Linked DNA regions of Homo sapiens: all the other regions are linked to region 2. The links are contacts of gene promoters, found by promoter capture Hi-C in blood cells and fetal thymus (Javierre and others, 2016). All regions are on one chromosome and are shown on one strand. Each heading gives the region's core, a stretch centred on a gene start or on the middle of the fragment in contact. The rest is flanking DNA. Distances are from core to core; before and after follow the strand shown.

The links. Contacts are between HindIII fragments. The CHiCAGO score rates a contact against its expected background, and 5 or more counts as called.
Region 1: a fragment that was not itself captured here is called in contact with the fragment with the promoter of UTP14A in region 2 in 2 of 17 cell types (neutrophils and monocytes); the score reaches 9.8 in neutrophils.
Region 3: a contact is called between a fragment that was not itself captured here and the fragment with the promoter of UTP14A in region 2, in 11 of 17 cell types (M2 macrophages, activated CD4 T cells, monocytes and 8 more). The highest score is 9.4, in M2 macrophages.
Region 4: a contact is called between a fragment that was not itself captured here and the fragment with the promoter of UTP14A in region 2, in 2 of 17 cell types (non-activated CD4 T cells and activated CD4 T cells). The highest score is 7.4, in non-activated CD4 T cells.
Region 5: a fragment that was not itself captured here is called in contact with the fragment with the promoter of UTP14A in region 2 in 5 of 17 cell types (M2 macrophages, monocytes, naive CD8 T cells and 2 more); the score reaches 7.5 in M2 macrophages.
Region 6: a fragment that was not itself captured here is called in contact with the fragment with the promoter of UTP14A in region 2 in 1 of 17 cell types (naive CD8 T cells); the score reaches 7.3 in naive CD8 T cells.
Region 7: a contact is called between a fragment that was not itself captured here and the fragment with the promoter of UTP14A in region 2, in 2 of 17 cell types (activated CD4 T cells and non-activated CD4 T cells). The highest score is 11.3, in activated CD4 T cells.

Annotation. Positions count from the first base shown.
Region 1 is chrX:129,562,216-129,564,915 of GRCh38, forward strand. It overlaps OCRL (OCRL inositol polyphosphate-5-phosphatase), which reads left to right. Exons shown (of 24, transcript NM_000276.4): 11 at 169-285; 12 at 384-571. Among named protein-coding and RNA genes, the nearest start is that of OCRL, 23 kb to the left of the region's middle. RefSeq lists an enhancer at 2,691-2,700. The HindIII fragment of the contact is 3,992 bases long and covers 1-2,700 here.
Region 2 is chrX:129,904,754-129,907,453 of GRCh38, forward strand. It overlaps UTP14A (UTP14A small subunit processome component), which reads left to right and starts at 1,411. Exons shown (of 15, transcript NM_006649.4): 1 at 1,411-1,483; 2 at 2,614-2,689. The coding sequence starts at 1,458. LOC105373335 (a long non-coding RNA gene) reads right to left here. Exons shown (of 3, transcript NR_188631.1): 3 at 2,511-2,700. The HindIII fragment of the contact is 20,573 bases long and covers 1-1,843 here.
Region 3 is chrX:129,580,491-129,583,190 of GRCh38, forward strand. The region is part of intron 18 of OCRL (OCRL inositol polyphosphate-5-phosphatase); the gene reads left to right. Among named protein-coding and RNA genes, the nearest start is that of OCRL, 42 kb to the left of the region's middle. The HindIII fragment of the contact is 3,432 bases long and covers 1-2,700 here.
Region 4 is chrX:130,348,664-130,351,363 of GRCh38, forward strand. SLC25A14 (solute carrier family 25 member 14) reads left to right here. Exons shown (of 11, transcript NM_001282195.2): 5 at 588-682; 6 at 1,983-2,068. Among named protein-coding and RNA genes, the nearest start is that of SLC25A14, 10 kb to the left of the region's middle. The HindIII fragment of the contact is 845 bases long and covers 1,012-1,856 here.
Region 5 is chrX:129,540,990-129,543,689 of GRCh38, forward strand. All of the region lies in intron 2 of OCRL (OCRL inositol polyphosphate-5-phosphatase), which reads left to right. Among named protein-coding and RNA genes, the nearest start is that of OCRL, 2.1 kb to the left of the region's middle. The HindIII fragment of the contact is 2,232 bases long and covers 135-2,366 here.
Region 6 is chrX:130,227,474-130,230,173 of GRCh38, forward strand. It overlaps ZNF280C (zinc finger protein 280C), which reads right to left. Exons shown (of 19, transcript NM_017666.5): 10 at 1,504-1,661; 11 at 209-309. Among named protein-coding and RNA genes, the nearest start is that of ZNF280C, 40 kb to the right of the region's middle. The HindIII fragment of the contact is 3,165 bases long and covers 1-2,700 here.
Region 7 is chrX:130,253,474-130,256,173 of GRCh38, forward strand. The region is part of intron 2 of ZNF280C (zinc finger protein 280C); the gene reads right to left. Among named protein-coding and RNA genes, the nearest start is that of ZNF280C, 14 kb to the right of the region's middle. The HindIII fragment of the contact is 5,205 bases long and covers 1-2,700 here.

The sequences.
Region 1 (2,700 bases), core at 1-2,500, 340 kb before region 2:
CAGAGAATATTAGTTTCCACTTGACGGGGTCCACTGAGAAATTAGAGGATATGAAGTCAGATTTGGGCACTAGTATATCATCTTGATGGAAAATTAGTCGTGGGACATTAGAAATGTGGCAAAGATTGGTATTAACATTAACCTTTTGTAACTCCCCGGAACTCATAGGTTCAACTGGTGCGCCTTGTTGGGATGATGCTTCTTATATTTGCCAGAAAGGATCAGTGTCGATACATTCGTGATATTGCTACAGAAACAGTTGGAACTGGAATCATGGGGAAAATGGTGAGTTACTTTGGAAATGAGCTTGATTATTATTCATGTTCATGTAAAGTTCAGTTGCTTGTTCTGTGTACTAATTGAATAATTACTCTTGCTAACAGGGAAACAAAGGTGGGGTAGCTGTGAGATTTGTATTTCACAACACCACCTTTTGCATTGTCAATTCCCATCTGGCTGCACACGTGGAGGACTTTGAGAGAAGGAATCAAGATTATAAGGACATTTGTGCGAGAATGAGTTTTGTGGTCCCAAATCAGACCCTCCCGCAGTTGAACATCATGAAACATGAGTAAGTGGTTAACTCACCTGTAGCCTTTGAGTAGTGGCTACAGGAGTTTGGATAGTGTAGAGATTAAATGTGAGATACTGTAGAGCTGTGAAGAGTGAAAGATTACCAGTGAGGGATTGGGGTCACAAAGGAGAGGGTTTTTGAGTAATAACAGAATCATTGAGGCAGAGAAATTAGACTTGATATCAGAGGAAAAGATAGTTCTATTAGTGGGGCACCTAGAATAATGCTGGAGGGTCTGTAGTTGGAGTCAGTTTTTATTGTTTTTATGATAAAATAGAAATATTCATTGCAAATGTAATAAAAGATAAAATTAGAAGTTAAATTTCCTCATTTCTTATTCTCTACCTAGCCAGTCCCTCTCTCCAAAGGAAACCATTCTTAACAGTTGGGTGTGTAGCCTTTTAGATCTGTACTGTCCAATATGACAACCAGTAGCCATATATGGCTGTTAGGTACCTGAAAGTGACTGGTCCAAATTAAGATATGCTGTATGCATAAGCTATATATTGGATTTTAAAGACTTAGGAAGAAGATGTACGATATCTTGATTTCTAAAATATTGATCACATGTTGAAATAATTTGGATATATTGAGTAAAATGAAATTTATTGATACTCACTTGTTTTTTTTCTTTTTAAATGCAGCTACTAGAAAACTTAAAATTATATTGTGAGGTGCATTATAATTCTATTAAATAGCACTATTCTAGCCTTTTGTCTATTCATATACAAACACACACATAGGTACTTGGTGTATAAGACTGTATTATTCTATTTATTGTGGATTCCTTTCCAAGCCAGTATATATAGATCTACATTATTCTTTTTAATGGCTGTGCTTATTAAAAACAGGGGCAGCAGAGAGAGGTCAGTGAAGAATGGGATTTAATAAGCATAGAAGCAGAGATGTGTTGAGGAGTAGATGTGGTGGTAGAAAATGATTAGTTTTAAAGAAATTAATATACCTAAAACCATGAAAACCCTAGAAGAAAACCTAGGCATTACCATTCAGGACATAGGCATGGGCAAGGACTTCATGTCTAAAACACCAAAAGCAATGGCAACAAAAGCCAAAATTGACAAATGGGATCTAATTCAACTAAAGAGCTTCTGCACAGCAAAAGAAACTACCATCAGAGTGAACAGGCAACCTACAAAATGGGAGAAAATTTTCGCAACCTACTCATCTGACAAAGGGCTAATATCCAGAATCTACAATGAACTCAAACAAATTTACAAGAAAAAAACAACCCCATCAAAAAGTGGGCAAAGGACATGAACAGACACTTCTCAAAAGAAGACATTTATGCAGCCAAAAAACACATGAAAAAATGCTCACCATCACTGGCCATCAGAGAAACGCAAATCAAAACCACAATGAGATACCATCTCACACCAGTTAGAATGGCAATCATTAAAAAGTCAGGAGACAACAGGTGCTGGAGAGGATGTGGAGAAATAGGAACACTTTTACACTGTTGGTGGGACTGTAAACTAGTTCAACCCTTGTGGAAGTCAGTGTGGCGATTCCTCAGGGATCTAGAACTAGAAATACCATTTGACCCAGCCATCCCATTACTGGGTATATACCCAAAGGACTATAAATCATGCTGCTATAAAGACATATGCACACGTATGTTTATCGCGGCACTATTCACAATAGCAAAGACTTGGAACCAAGCCAAATGTCCAACAATGATAGACTGGATTAAGAAAATGTGGCACATATACACCATGGAATACTATGCAGCCATAAAAAATGATGAGCTCATGTCCTTTGTAGGGACATGGATGAAATTGGAAATCATCATTCACAGTAAACTATCGCAAGAACAAAAAACCAAACACTGCATGTTCTCACTCATAGGTGGGAATTGAACAATGAGAACACATGGACACAGGAAGGGGAACATCACACTCTGGGGACTGTTGTGGGGTGGGGGGAGCGGGGAGGGATAGCTTTAGGAGATATACCTAATGCTAAATGACGAGTTAATGGGTGCAGCACACCAGCATGGCACATGTATACATATGTAACTAACCTGCACATTGTGCACATGTACCCTAAAACTTATAATAATAAAATAAAATTTAAAAAATTAATATAGAGAGTAGAGTCATTGGGGA
Region 2 (2,700 bases), core at 161-2,660:
ATCCGTTTTATTTAGCAACTTTGGGTGTCGCTGATCTTGTCCAGAGCAATTTCTGTGGAATAATGGGGCAAAAGCAAAATGGGAATGGATTACAAGAATGAAAAGAACGGGCCGGGCGCCGTGGCTCACGCCTGTAATCCTAGCACTTTGGGAGGCCGAGACGGGTGGATCATGAGGTCACGAGATCGAGACCATCCTGGCTAACACGGTGAAACCCCGTCTCTACTTAAAAAAAAAAAAAAAATTAGCCGGGTGTGGTGGCAGGCGCCTGTAGTCCCAGCTACTCAGGAAGCTGAGGCAGGTGAATGGTGTGAACCCGGGAGGCGGAGCTTGCAGTGAGCTGAGATCGCACCACTGCATTCCAGCGTGGGCGACGGAGTGAGACTCCGTCTCAAAAAAAAAAAATGAAAAGAATGTTCTTGTCTATTATTTTTCTACAATCATTAATTAATATATATATATATTAGGCCGGGCCCGGTGGCTCACACCTGTAATCTCAGCACTTTGGGAGGCCGAGGCGGGCAGATCACTTGAGGCCAGGAATTCTAGACCAGCCTGGCCAACGTGGCAAAACCCCGTCTCTACTAAAAATGCAAATATTAGCCGAGCATGGTGGCGGGTGCCTGTAATCCTAGCGACTCGGGAGGCTGAGGCAGGAGAATCGCTTGAACCCGGGAGGTGGAGGTTGCAGTGAGCTGAGATCACGCCATTGCACTCCAGCCTGAACGACACAGCAAGGCTCTGTCTCAAAAATAAATAAATAAAATTCTTAAAAGTTGATGGGAGAAAAAAAGTTGTTTAAAAAAATTTTTTTAAGTTGATGGGAGGTGAGGAAGCGTAGTTACTGATGGCCCCTTCTTGGATAAAAAAAATCTTTTGACTCAGGAAATGAAGAACAAAGCTGCAATTACAAGGGATCAAAGGCGATTTTTCCTTAAATGGAAGGAAACTTGTTATGTTCACCATCGGATCTCCGGGGCCCGGCACAATCTGGCCACTTAATAGGCATTCAATAAACCCCCGAGCTGGCTTGTGGTCGGCTTGCAGGACGCCGTCGCACAAGGACGGGCGCTGTAGTCTTTCCTTCTGGATTCTGCAGTGACGAATGAAGGCGCGGGCTCAGCCCCTGAGAGCGCAGCACCGTCGCCCTAAGCTAACCCACCTTGGGCCACGTGGAAACCAGGGGCCAGGAGGACAGACACCCGCGCGCCAGAGAAATACGGGGTGGGTGGAGAAAGGAATGCCCCACCCGCTGACAGCCGTTTCATCTCAGGCCTCCCAGTTTTCTGCAGGCCCCTCCCTACACGGCTCCTGCTTCTCTCACGCCTCGTACGGAACGGAAGTGACGTGTACGTCGCGAGCGATTGACGGAAACAGAAATTGCTTTGCGGCCCGCACGGAAATTGCTTTCCTTCGGCTTCCGTTCTTGGTCCATGTGAGAGAAGCTGGCTGCTGAAATGACTGCGAACCGGCTTGCAGAGAGGTGAAGGGCAACGAGGGGAGGGGGGATTCTGGGTCTCGTTGGGGGCCGGGTTCCCCAGCTTTTGGGAAATGGGAGCCCCCCCTTTAACAGATGGCAGTGGTTCCCCTGAAGAGCTGGCCATTCGTTCCTATTTTCCGCGATCCAGCCTTTAAAGCCCTTTTAATTTAATTTCATTCGCTTACTCCGCTCCTCAGCTGTATAGCCGCATCCCTGTTGGTCCTGATGCTGTTTCTGCCTCCCCAGCTCATTTACTGTGTTTCACATTTTTCGTCACGTGGCCCCTTTTTCTGCCTCTGTCGCGGCCCGATTTAATCCTCTGCGCAGGCAGTGCAGGCGTTATAAACTCCCCGAATCTTGGAAAGCTTTGCTGATTGGAGTCATCCACCACGTTTTGGCTCCTGTGATGTTTTGTGCCCCCCCCACCCCGCCCCCGGAACTAAATGTAGTCCGTTTAGTAATGTTGGCTTTGCAAATACTAATAATATATGCTGTTAGGTAATGGTACATTTTATAATTTGTTTGTGGGTACCAATCTCCTTAGTTAAGCACCTACTTTACTAAGCAAGCCCCAGGGAAAGTGGCTTACCCAGCTGCTTTCGACCTGTTTCTCCATTCCTGGGAACAAGGATCAAGATAACACTTTTGATTAGGCTGCCTATCAATGAGTCAAATATATGGAGGATGCTTAGAAATATTAATCGTGAAACTGCCTTGCCTCCAGGGCTAGCTAGCAACAGCGTCTTTGGCCATATTATTCTAGGGTCTGACATTTTTACAGCTTCCCATAGGTCATAGGAAATGTTGTGCCAATCCCTGAAAAGTGATAGCTCTTTTACATGCAGTTTTGAAGTCAGGCATCACTCTTGGAGGTGATGCCTGACTTCAGTCTAAATTTCACATCTTGACAAGTTTCCAAAGGCATTCACGCTGCTTTATATATCTTCTGAGGGATAGGGCTATTCTGTGCTGAAATTACAATGTTTTCGAGATTGTTTTAATAGATTAGACATTGCTTCAAATAATAATATTTCTTTTTTTAATTTCGACTTTTATTATAATTAAGGGATACATATGCAGGTTTGTTACATGGGTATATTGCATTCACATTTCTCTGTTGCCTCTTTTAACAGCCTTCTGGCTTTGAGCCAACAGGAAGAACTAGCGGATTTGCCAAAAGACTACCTCTTGAGTGAGAGTGAAGATGAGGTGGGTGACAA
Region 3 (2,700 bases), core at 25-2,524, 320 kb before region 2:
AGTATGAGGTTGCAAATTGATATAGTTGGAAGAACATTCTGGTGTTACTTGTAGAATGGACTAATTGAAAGGAGACAAGACTTGAACTTGCCAGATGTGGCTAAGTTGTAAATACGGAGATGAAAAAAGTTGAGGGATGGGTAGAGAAACTATATTTGCTTGGGGACATATCTGTTGGGAGAACAATATCAAAAGTTTGAAATAACAGGAATAACTTGTTAATTTGTCCGTAGTGTTTTTTTCACTATGTTTTTACTTTGTCTTACTAATCTAACCATCCATTTCTTACTCTGTTAAGTATATGGCTTGTATTTCTTCTCTATTTCATATGAACTAATCCTTTTTAGAACTTCATTTTCCATTCAGTTTTCGGCTATTTATTTATTTATTTTTGAGATGGAGTCTTACCCTGTCGGCCAGGCTGTAGTGCAGTGGCACAATCTTGGCTCACTGCAACCTCCATCTCCCAGTTCAAGTGACTCTCCTGCCTCAGCCTCCCGAGTAACTGGGACTACAGGCGCGCGCCACCACGCCTGGCTAATTTTTGCCTTTTTAGTAGAGATGGGGTTTTACTGTGTTGGCCAGGCTGGTCTTGAACACCTGACCTCAGGTGATCCACCCGCCTCAGCTTCCCAAGGTGCTGGGATTACAGGCGTGAGCCACCGTGCCCGGCTATGCTTTTTATTTTTAAATTTGCATCTTCCACCTCTAATTGACTCTTTTATTTTAGCTGCATTTACCACGGGGAACAGTCTTCTGAGGGTGAATGTTGGGGTAAAGAATGATTTGCATTGCATTTGCTATGTGCCAGTGTTGTCCCACTGGGGAAATCCTGAACTAAGTTCTCTTTTTAAATGTAATCCATATATAGCCTTTTGCAGAGAATGGGCATCTCTGCTCTTTAAAATTGGTTGAACTAAGTGATTCATAGTAGAAACCTTAGGATTATTATAGGAGTAAGCTGTTTACTAATAAAGGTTAAGTGATGCTTCTGTTTTCAAAATTGAGACCAAGGTTGAATTCAATGTAATTTCTATGTTGTTTCTTTGTGCCTGTACCTAGAGAAGTAAATCTCTTGTCCCTCCATCAGTATTTAATCAAAGTCCTTTTGATTCTTCTTTCAGAATTTTCTCTTGTATTCATTCATTTGTAAGTGTATGTATATACCTTTTATTATATATATATATCCTTTAATATATATACTTAGAAATTATATATATATATATACACACACCTGTGTGTGTGTGTGTGTGTGTGTGTGTATAAAATTTTCCATTATTAAGATGTTTACCTTCTTCTGCTTGACCTACCTCGGTAGCCTTTGAATGATCCCTTTGTCTTTCTCTCTCTCTCTCTCTCTCTCTCTCTCTCTCTCTGTCTCTGTCTCTGCCCTTCATTTTTTCCTATTCAGGGCTGTCAGATTGATCTTTCTGTACTACTGCTTTGGGGCCTATCACTTCCTTGCTTAAAGGTAGTCAGTGGCTTCCCCATGCCTGCTGAATACAATCCAAATGCCTTAATCTGTCATGCAAGGTCCTCCTAAGTCTGACTTCAACATACCTTTTCAGATTTATTTCACACTATTTTTCTTGGCATTCTCCATGCCCCCCACAAACAGATGACTAACTTCTTCCTAATATCAATTTGTGATTTACTGTCTCTGTGCCTTTTGTTTATTTCTGCCTCTTCCACTTGTAATATTCTCTCCCCATCTCTACCCTTTAAAATTCTGTGAGTCTTTTAAAGGGCTAGCAATGATTTATTGAGAACTCGTATTCATGAATTATAACAATACCAGTCTGTAAACTCTGGAACTCCTCACCCCAACTCAGTTGCAAATCAGAGTCAGGGACAAACCAGGTCTTTCTCCTTTATCCTCATTTCTCATTGCCTTCCCCTGCAAAGGCATTTTAGCACAATGCCTTGTACTGGAGGATGGCTGCTGCTTAAAGAAAACTTTTTTGAGAGCCTGGTTCGACAGGTTAGTATACAAAATCTCTGTCTAGTTTTATTCATATCATGTATTAGATATTCATGGGAGGAAAAATATAAAATGTGTCAGATAGATTCTTCATTTGATAACAAGTCCTAAATTTTACAAGAGGTTCTAGTCTAAAATTGTATCAGATGTTGGGCACTCAAAATCAACTTGACATTAAAAGGTATCGTAATTATAGTACTATAAATATGTACCTTATAAAGACTATTCTAATTGCTTTATTTCATGTGATATTTAAGAGTCTAGATAAACCCACAAAAGCATGTTTAATTCGTGAAGTATCTACCAATATTAAAACGCCTAATCCCCATGGATAACAGTAGTGTGGGAGGAATGCATTCAGTATTACCACTAGGAATGCCAGGGAGCACATACTTTTCCTCCTCCCTCTCCACTCCCAGCTCCTGTGCATCTCAGACAGTAAGATTGGGATTTCTCCTTTTACCTAGCAGAACTAAGACATGTAATTTAGACTTGAGTGCTTAGTGGTCCATAGTCAGATTCGAAACAATCCAGGTTGGGAGTCACTGGGGAGGTATGAGGAACTTTGAGGAACCCAGACCTTCTGCTGGCATACTGCCCCATCACCCATTGGTTTTAGGCTGCTTCAAGGTAAATATTACTATCCCTATTTTAGAGATGAAGAAACTGAGGCTCTATGAAGTTTGGTAACTTGTGTGAGGGCTATACAAAATTGCCAA
Region 4 (2,700 bases), core at 184-2,683, 440 kb after region 2:
TTTTCAATTTCATTGATTTGTGCTTTTTATTATTTTCTTTTGCTTGCTTTGGGTTATTTTGCTTTTCTTTTTCTAGTTTCTTGAGGTAGGAGCATAGATTATTGATTTGAGACTCTACCCCCCCCCCCCCTTTTTTTTTTTTAAAATGCAAGCATTTCATGCTGTAAATTTCCCTCAGCACTGCTTTGGCTGCATCTCATACATTTTAATAGGTTGAATTTTGTTGTCATTTAGACCTGTGAATTAAAAAAAAATTCCTTTGACAGACACTTGGTCTGACCAATAGATTATTTAGATATATATTGTTTAATTTCTAAATGTTTGAGGATTTTTCTTATTGATTTCTGGTTTGATTCCATTATTGTCAGATAACATATTGTATATGATTTCAGTTCTTTTAAATTTGTTGAGGTTGGTTTTATGACCCAGAATGTTCAGTTTCTTGCTGAGTGTTTCATGAGTGCTTGAAAAAAATCATATTCTGCTGTTGTTGGGTAGAATGAGATGGGTAGTCCAAATAAGTAGGCTATCTAGATATGTATAATCTGAAAATGTTGAGAATAACTTTTTACTTTTTTTTTTTTCAGAATTGCTCCTGCGTTGCTAAGACAAGCATCATATGGCACCATTAAAATTGGGATTTACCAAAGCTTGAAGCGCTTATTCGTAGAACGTTTAGAAGGTCAGTATACTTACCCTCTTTTGAGGTGATACTCAAAGGGATTGTTGAAATCATGCTTAGTGAGAAATGTTGGTCATGAGGTGCCTGAGAATGGAGGAGAGTCACTGCAAAGACAAAGTGAGCTTGTTCTAACTTGGAATAAATCTTTGCAGAGGTGATATATGAATTAGAGAGACCTGTTCTTCAAATTTGTCCCTTTTCCTATCAACAAAAAAGGCATGTGATCATCCCAAAAGAAACATGGAACAATCTTGTCCAGAAAATTAATGCTATCTTCATCAATAAGAGGACTTCAACTGTAAGGCATTTTCTAGCTGGCAATTTTGATAAGCTTTTATTAGGCAGAATAATTTTAGGCTGTTTTCTAAATTCTGATGTACCTTTGGCTACCTTATGCATATTCAGCATTATCATATGTCTGTTTGCTGCTGTAGCATTTTCCATCATGATACTACACTAAATGGTTATTTTACCACAGGCCTGGGGCTGTTGGATGTTTGGGGACAGCTGGAAAGCCTTTCGGTTAGTAATGTCCTTTGAATCACTTTATTGTCCTAAAGTCAACTTTTTCTGAAGCCTTTTTTTGGGGATTGTGAAGGGTTCTCTTCCACCTCTTTCTGAAATATTTTTCTTTCATAGATTCTTCACTTGGGTTTATTTAGTTTCTATTTGTGGGGTCTTCATGGTGTGAAGGAGCGGTAAAGATTGAATTTCACTATAGAACAATGTGCTCTGTGGTTTCTTTGTTCTTTTTTCTCACTGAGGAGATTTAGTTCTAAATGATTGCTTTTTCATATTTGACTACAGAAATATTTTATAAATTAACAGAGGCTAGGAGAGATCTCAGGCCTATCAAAATTAATATTCAAATAAGTTTTTTGTATTAGACGTAAGATTTTCTCTTTTAACATTCAGTTCCTGAATCTTTAGAGTTGATGATTACCCAGAAAAAGACTTAAAAAGTATGTTCTTTAGATGTTTGAAAAGGTCGAAGGGGAAATACCACCTTCTGAATTTGTGTGTGGGATACTGATAGTTATGTAGAAGAAAAGGACGTGTTCCAGTGTCCTTTAGAAATAATGATGTTTTTAGAAATGATTTATATTTTACAAGTTTTAATATATTTTAGCACTGAATTGAGATCTAGAAATATTTGAGTTTCTTTATTTTCCTAAGCTTTTTGGTTCATTTCTAAAGTCATCTCTCTAACCAAGTTTCCCTTCCTCCAGTAGGTCAGTAGTATGTACTCAAACTGGTGCCTAATACAAGCAGACCTTTCTTTTTCTTTTCCTTTTCACAGATGAAACTCTTTTAATTAATATGATCTGTGGGGTAGTGTCAGGAGTGATATCTTCCACTATAGCCAATCCCACCGATGTTCTAAAGGTAAGAGAGATACAGTGTGATTTGAAAGGAGCATAACTTTGAGTCAGATTTGGGTTCAGATTCCCACTCTGTCACTTGCCAGCTGTAGAACCTTGGGCAAATCAGTTAACTGCATTAAGCCTCAATTTCATCATTTGAAAAATGAATATAATACAGTGTTTATAACATAGAGTTGTAAAGGATTAGCGATAATATATATATAAACTGCCTATCATTGTACTTGGTGTAGTAGATGCTCAATAAATGGCAGTCAGTTTATTATGATATGTGTTAATCCACTGGTCCTCACACTGGGGTATGCAAGACCCTATAGGTTCTTTCCAAGGGCTATGCAGTTTTATAGGAATCAATTTCCAGATCTCTTACATCCATTTGTACTCCATCCTAAAACTGGTACGAGAATGAATCTGTTCATAATAGCCCTTACTCAATTTTACAAAAGAAATGTACGTCCCCACCTATTCTAAATCTTGGTATGGTATGTTGACCTGTGGTATAACCTGGGATGCCAAACAGAGGGGTAAACTGAAATACAGTTCTTGGAGAAGCCTATTTTAGTAACCAATTTGGGTATCTTAAGTCTGTAATGCCTCTGTCTTTCCCTGTCTTATTAATATTTCTATTCAGGGTGA
Region 5 (2,700 bases), core at 1-2,500, 360 kb before region 2:
TTCCAAGCCTCTGGATTGTGCTTGGCAGTGTGGCTCAGTGGAAGGACTGAATGGGCGGGGAAGCAGGAAGCCTGGGTTCTTAGTTCCTGCCCCTGCAACTGACATGTGTTGTGTAACGTTGGGCAAGTCAATAAAGCTTTCTGGGCCAAAGTTAACTCTTCAGTTTAATAAAACCATTAACTGCCTTACCTTACAGCCTTTGGAATTATAACTGGGGGAAAAATAAATGCGAGAGTGGCTTCCAAAAAGTAAAAGTGCTATGGAAATGCTTCATTGTTAACGTTACAGACTTGTCTTAACCCTATTCAGCTGGTTTCTCCAGTCTCCCCGTCCCCTTATCCCACTGGGTTGAAGGCATATTCATTAATTCAGTAATGGTTTAGTGTAGGCCAGAAACTGCCTCACTTACTGACTTTACTGTTAGAAAGAAAAGGTAATGAAATGTGTAGAGATAGAAATGACAGTATTTTATCAGTGTGTCACCTTCCTCTCTGCCATAGGAGCTCCGTAAATACTGTTGACTGATTGATCAAAAGATTATTTTGATAAGCTATCACCATAGCTGCTAACCTCACTCTATTGTCACTAATATCTTATCTCAAAAATATCCATGGTGACCATTACGTATCATAGGCCCCTATCCCTGTGTGCCCAAGACACCTCACTTGGATATTCATTGGCTTCTTGACATCATATTCCTTCCCAGTTTAAAAATTGTTCACTTAAATCTTGCCATCTCCCAACATTGGCTTCTGCCTAAAACCAATTTTCTCAGTCCCCACTTTTAGATCCTCTGTATCTATGCTGTCAGATTTACACGGAAGAAATTCCCACTGGCCCAACCTGCTCTTCTCTGAGACTATTGGTGCCACTCTAACTGGATGTCAGCTAATTCTGTGAAGTAGCTCTTTCATAGGTCCTGCTTAGTCAGCTCTACTGGGAAGTTCATCAAACCCGGATTTCATCAAACCCTGGAAGACTAGTTTAATGAAACTAAACTAAATTCAGAATTTAATAAAACAAAATTCAGCAGAAAAGTGGAACACCACTAACATTTCCAAAGGCTAGAGTGGGTTACAGAGAGGTGACCCTTGGGCAAACCAGTAAAACTTGTGTGCCTTGGTTTCCTCTAATGTAAAAACAAAATCATGAAGATTGAATAGAGTAGCTACATTGTTGAGATGACCACAGCCCAGAATCTAGTCCCTCGGATTAGTAGATTTGGAACTCTGTTGAGCTAATAAGGAAGTCGTGTGTTCCAATTCTGTGTAAGTTATGGGGGTATAGTTGGGGGTATATGTGGGGGTATGGGGCTGCTATATAACTAACATTAATATATAGGTAACACTATATAACAACTATATAACTAACAACTAATATAGTTGTTGCTATATTAGCAGTTTATATATAAACTATGTAAATAGTTTTAAATATATATAAACTATAGTTTTAAATACATATAAACTATAGTTTATATATAAACTAACATATAACTAACAACTAATATAGTTGTTGCTATATAACTAACATTCAATGGCTGCTTATGTGCCAGGTACTGTTCTAAGCCCTTTTCATTAGTTAGTTCATTTAATCCACATGTGAGGGTTACTATAAGATAGTAATATCATCATCCCCCTTTTATAGATACAGAAATTGAAGCACAGACAGGTTAAGTCACTTGTTTGCAATTAGGGAGTAGAATACCTGAGATCTGATCCTATGTAACATGTCTCAGAATTACACTGAGAAGTTTCTCTTGAAAGCATTTGCTGGAGACACCTAATACCATAATACCATCTGTAATCCTCATATTCTTGTCTCTCTGGTGTCTTTTCTGACTCGAGTGTCCAGAACTTTTTACTTTTGGCTTTTTTATCCTAGAACTTGAAGCCTGACTTAAATCTTTAGGTCTGTGGTTCCTACTGTCAACCATAGGAAATTTGCTTGACCAAAATTACAATTAAAAATCAGGGTTTTTTTGGAAACAGGGAATCAAACACTTAAGATTCATATTTTTCAAGGATAATAGATTATGACAAAACCTGTTTGACCTTTAACCTTCCTTGAACAAATCAAAGTGTTTCCTAGGGATAAGGCAGAGTTGGCATTCAGGATTTGTCACTCTTTTCTGTTTGACAACTACCAAATTCTGAATTCCATTGTTTTGCTGTATACCAATTATTTCTAATCTTTATATTCTGAAATGAATAATTACACTCAGAATTTTTATGCTTATTCTTAGCCCTACTCTTTTATTGTAATTTAGTGGGTAACACGTAGTAAATACTCAATAAATGTTGGTGAAATTCACTTAAATTCTCAGTTTATTTGTTTTGTAATAGTTTTTAACAGTACTGTCCAGATGAAGCTTTAATGCTAATGTTCAACACCATTTCTTGTTTATGTATTTTGAGATTTTAGTGGTTTGTGTTTATCTTCCTCAAAGTAAGCTCTTCCTCCTTAACCCTTGATTTCTCAGCCTTTTATCTGGTTTCTGGTTTCCATCTGGGTTTATAGGACTCTCCACTCAACTCATGAACTTTCCAGATGGAAAGGGGCCTGCCCCATATTCCTGTAATCACCTTAGAGTACAAACCCCTGCAAATTAGGCAAGAAGGATCACAGCAGAAAAACAGCATTAATACTTTTATTTCCCTTAGTTCTATCTAAGTAATTACTTATCCTATCCCAGGTTATCCT
Region 6 (2,700 bases), core at 58-2,557, 320 kb after region 2:
TACAACCCACAGGCAAAATCTACTCCACCCCTTTACTTACAATGCATGAGTTAAACCCAAGGGGGTTTCCACTAATGAAGAGGGTCTTCAATTTTAGCATAGTAACTAATTTTATTTAAATGGCTTTAAAAAATCAAAAGAACAATACTATTTCATGGCACATGAAAATTAAACAAACACTTAACTACACAATAAAATGTGTGTGTACCTGGCAAACATATGGCATTTCACCAGGTTTATGGGTGTCCTTCATATGTTGTAAAAGAATATGCTCTGTTTCAAATGATAATTCACAGATTTTGCAAATAGCTGAAAGTGGAAAAAAACACATTATACCATTTAAGGATGTATATAAAAAAAGATTCATTTTGTACATCCACAACAAGTAATAATAATAGTAGAAGTAACAGTGATGTGGTTCTAACAATTCTATAGCTGTTGACTCTGTAATGCTGTTCCAAGGATATATTAGCTTATTTAATTCTCGTAACATCACTGAGGAAGGTACTGTTATTTTTATTCCTATTTTTCAGATGAGGAACCAGAAGCACAGAAAAATTAAGAAACTTGCTTGAGATCTCACAGCTGTAGTAAGAGGCAAAGTTGGAATCTGAACCAAATTTGTCCGCGTCTCAGACTCTAAATCTTAACATTGTAGTTAACTTTTGTCTAAAGTGTAAATCAAGACAATTAACTTCAAATTTGAAAACCATGGAATCTGGGTGTTCTAATTTAGTCCCCTACACCAATGCATGTGCCAAGGAAGTTTCCACTAATGAATTGTTTATAAGAAAGATTTCAATTATTTTATTTTATTTTATTTTTTTGAGATGGAGTCTCGCTCTTGTTGCCCAGGCTGGAGTGCAATGGTGCCATCTCGGCTCACCGCAACCTCTGCCTCCTGGGTTCAAGTGATTCTCCTGCCTCAGTCTCCCAAGTAGCTGGGATTACAGGCGTGCGCCACCTTGCCTGGCTAATTTTGTATTTTTAGTACAGATGGGGTTTCTCCATGTTAGTCAGGCTGGTCTCTAACTCCCGACCTCAGGTGATCAACCCACCTCGGCTTCCCAGAGTGCTGGGATTACAGGAATGAGCCACTGCGCCCGACCAAGGGACTTCAATTTTAACAGTTTTTTTCTTCTACTTTTTTTTTTTTTTTTTTTTTTTGTAGAGGCAGGGTCTTACTATGTTGCCCAGGCTGGAGTGCAGTGGCTATTCACAGGTGCAATTGATCATAGCATTCTATAGTACTGAACTCATGGGCTCAAGTGATCCTCCTGCCTCAGCCTCCTCAGTAGCTGGGTGTATAGGCATGCACCATCACACCTGGCTTTAGAACACATTTCATCTAGGTTTATAAAAGTTATGATTTTTTTTTTCAATTTTGCCCTCATATTACAAAGTCTACTTCTTATTTTTTTCTGCCAGAATTTTTAAGGTTTCCTCACAGTTCGGATGATCAAAGTCAACAATATTCAGGATTCCAAAGAAACTTTCACTTACTAGAAAACTCATGGGGAGTGTGTGTACTCTCAATGTGGCACTGCAGTTGGAAGGGTGTGGGATATTGCCGGTAACAGTGCTGGCAGGTGGTGTGGTTTTCCCAGCTTTCATTGTTCTGCTTCTCAAGTTCCAAGTGATGTTTCATGTGGTTCATAAACCTACAAACAATTTGCCAGTAAGAGCAAAAATTCAGACTTATAACCAAAGAAAAACCTCACAAATAAGTCTCTGAAAATAAATTTTTAAAATGTAATTCTATGACTCAAAATAACATCTCCAAGGCCTGAAAGCACTCTATAAAGTGTGTACTTTAAATAATTTACTTTCATTAAGTGGCTCAGTAAGGTTTTTTTATCTTTGTTTCTAAAATAATCCATTAATGTAGTAGTATGAAACATCACTAATTTGCTGTAACACTATATCATTATTTTAGATTTAAAATTTTTTTTAGCAAAGAAAAATAGCAGGCTTCTTTTCCATACATGAAATACTATTTACATTTTAAAATAAAATACTGAAAGGATGGAAACTCTACCACCAAAAGCAGCTACAGTGAAGAGACAAATCTTTGAAAGCTCTGAAGGTTTCAGCTGCTCAAAAGACAAACTGCTGGTATATTTTTATTTGTGTCTTGGTTTCTAAATGCATGCAATAGCAATTTTAATGACTATAATTACAAGAACCTTTTGTTTTATCTAATTATACTGGCTTACTGTTAGCACAAACTATTCATTTTTCTTAGCAGGCTGTGCCCTTTGTAGCACTGTCTATTTTTCAGTTTTACCTTCTGCTATTTTAGCTTCTCTGAAAGGCTTCTGAAGAGAAGGAACTATGATGTTCAATGGCAGAGAGTACAATATAAATGGACATACCATTTTCAAAGGGCTTACTAAAACTTTTTGCTGAATTTCAAAGTAAAGTTATTCAATGTAAACAACAGTTTTAAGACTGGGTCAACTACTTACAATTATTATGAATCACTAAAGAAAATAATCTTGAAACAAAGTGATAATGTCATCAACCTACATAGCAATCATTGTGAAGGTTTGGGTTTTTATCTTTTTTCACACCTCCAAAACACTTCTCTTTGGTTTTGGTAAACGCCTGCAATTTATTTTAAAATGGAAAAATTTGAGCTTTAAATAAGGTTAGTATGGAGGAGGTCATGCTGCATAGGGTTCTTCTTGTGACATGAAG
Region 7 (2,700 bases), core at 130-2,629, 350 kb after region 2:
GAACAAAGATGAAGGCATCATGCTACCTGCCTTCAAATGGTACAGGGCTACAATAACCAAAACAACATGGTCCTGGTACAAAAACACATATATAAACCAATGGAACAGAATAGAGAGCCCAGAAATAAGGCCACACACCTACAGCCATCTGACGTTCGACAAAGCTGACAAAAACACACAATGGGGAAAGGACTCCCTATTCAATAAATGGTGCCAGGATAACTGGCTAGCCATATGCAAGAGACTGAAACTGGACCCCTTCCTTACACCATACACAAAAATCAACTCAAGATGGATCAAAGACTTCAATGTAAAACCCAAAACTATAAAAACCCTGGAAGACAACCTAGCCAATACCATTCTGGACATAGGAATGGCCAAAGACTTCATGACAAAGACGTCAAAGGCAATTACAACAAGAGCCAAAATTGACAAATGGGCTCTAATTAAATGAAACTATAGACAGAGCAAAAGAAACTAGAGACAGAGTAAACAGACAACCTACAGACAGGAGAAAAATTTTGCAAATCATGCATCTGACAAAGGGCTAATATCCAGCATATATAAAGAACTTAAACAAATTTACAAGAAAAAAGCAAACAACCCCATTGAAAAGTTGGCAGTGGATGTGAACAGATGCTTATCAGAAGAAGACATACATGCAGGCAACAAGCATATGAAAAAAAGCACAACATCACTGATCATTAGAGAAATGCAAATCAAAACCACACTGAGATATAATCTCTCACCTGTCAGAATGGCTATTCAAAAGTCAAAAAAATAACAGATGCTGGGGAGGTTGCAGAGAAAAAGGAACATTTATACACTGTTGGTGGGAGTGTAAATTAGTTCAACCACTGTGGAAGACAGTGTGGTGATTCCTCAAAGAGCTAAAAACAGAACTACCATTAGACCCAGCAATTCTATTACTAGGTATATACCCAAAGGAATGTAAACTCTTCTATCATAAAGACACATGTATACATATGTTCACTGCAGCACTATTCACAGGAGCAAAGACATGGAATCGACCCAAATGCCCATCAATGGTAGACTGGATGAAGAAAATGTGGTACATATACACCATGGAGAACTTTGCAGCCATAAAAAAGAGCAAGGTCATGTCCTTTGCAGGAACATGGATGGAGCTGGAGACCATTATCCTTAGCAAACTAATGCAGGAACAGAAAACCTAATACCACATGTTATCACTTATAAGTGGGAGCTAAATGATGAGAACACATGGACATATAGAGGTGAACAACAGATGCTGAGGGCCTACTTGAGGGTGGAGGGTGGGAGGAGGGAGAGGATCAGGAAAAATAACTCATGAGTACTAGGCTTAATACCTGAGTGATGAAATAACCTATACAACAAACCCCCAAGACATGAGTGTACCCATAACAAACCTGCACATGTATCCCTGAACTTAAAATAAAAGTTAAAAAAAGAAGACACAGATAATACAGAGCAAGAGACAATAATAGGATATAATAAACATCTTTAGACAGATAAGACAACGATATTATATAAAGACAGCCAAAATTCAGTTAAAAAAAAAAAAAAGTCAAATGTCAAAGTTGAGTAAATGTGAAACCAAAAGACAAAAAACACATATATTAAACACAGAAAACAAGATTGGTAGAAAAATCATTTTCTTTTTTTTTCTTTTTTTTTTTTTTTTTGAGACGGAGTCTCGCTCTGTCACCCAGGCTGGAGTGCAGTGGCGGGATCTCGGCTCACTGCAAGCTCCGCCTCCCGGGTTCACGCCATTCTCCTTCCTCAGCCTCCCAAGTAGCTGGGACTACAGGCGCCCGCCACTACGCCCGGCTAATTTTTTGTATTTTTAGTAGAGACGGGGTTTCACCGTTTTAGCCGGGATGGTCTCGATCTCCTGACCTCGTGATCCGCCCGCCTCGGCCTCCCAAAGTGCTGGGATTACAGGCGTGAGCCACCGCGCCCGGCCGAAAAATCATTTTCAAAGGTATAAAATGCACCTAACAAAAGCTCCAGAAAAAAAAAAAAGAGAGAGAAAAAGGAGAGGAGAAGTAATCAAAGGAAAATACAAAAAAAATTCCTAGTTCTCATGGATATAAATCTACAGAAAGAAAGGGCCCACTAACAGCCAGCACAATGATCAAGAATAAAAACTACACTAGCGGGACATATGAAATTTCAGAATATCAGAAATTGCCAGGTGGCTGAGTGTGGTGGCCCAGGCCTGTAATCCCAGCACTTTCGGAGGCCAAGGCAGGTGGATCACTTGAGGCCAGGAGTTCGAGACCAGCATGGACAACATGGTGAGACGCTGTCCCTACTAAAAATACAAAGATTAGCTGGGCATGGTGGTGCGCACCTGTAATTCTAGCTGCTTGGGAGGCAGAGGCACAAGAATCGCCTCAACCCAGGAGCCGGTGGTTGCAGTGAGCTGAGATAGGACCCTGCCACTGCAATCTAGCCTGGGTGATGGAGAGTCTCACTCAAACAAACAAACAAGAATAAAGAACAGCTTAGTCAGGCATGGTGGTGTGCACTCAAGTCCTAGTTACTCAGAAAGCTGAGGTGGGAGAATCACCTGAGCTCCAGGAGGTGGGGCTGCAGTGAGCCATGAAGGTGCCACTGCACTCCAATCTAGGCAACAGAGTAAGGGCTTATCTCCAAAAAAAAATAAGAATAAGAATAAAGACCAGCAATATTATA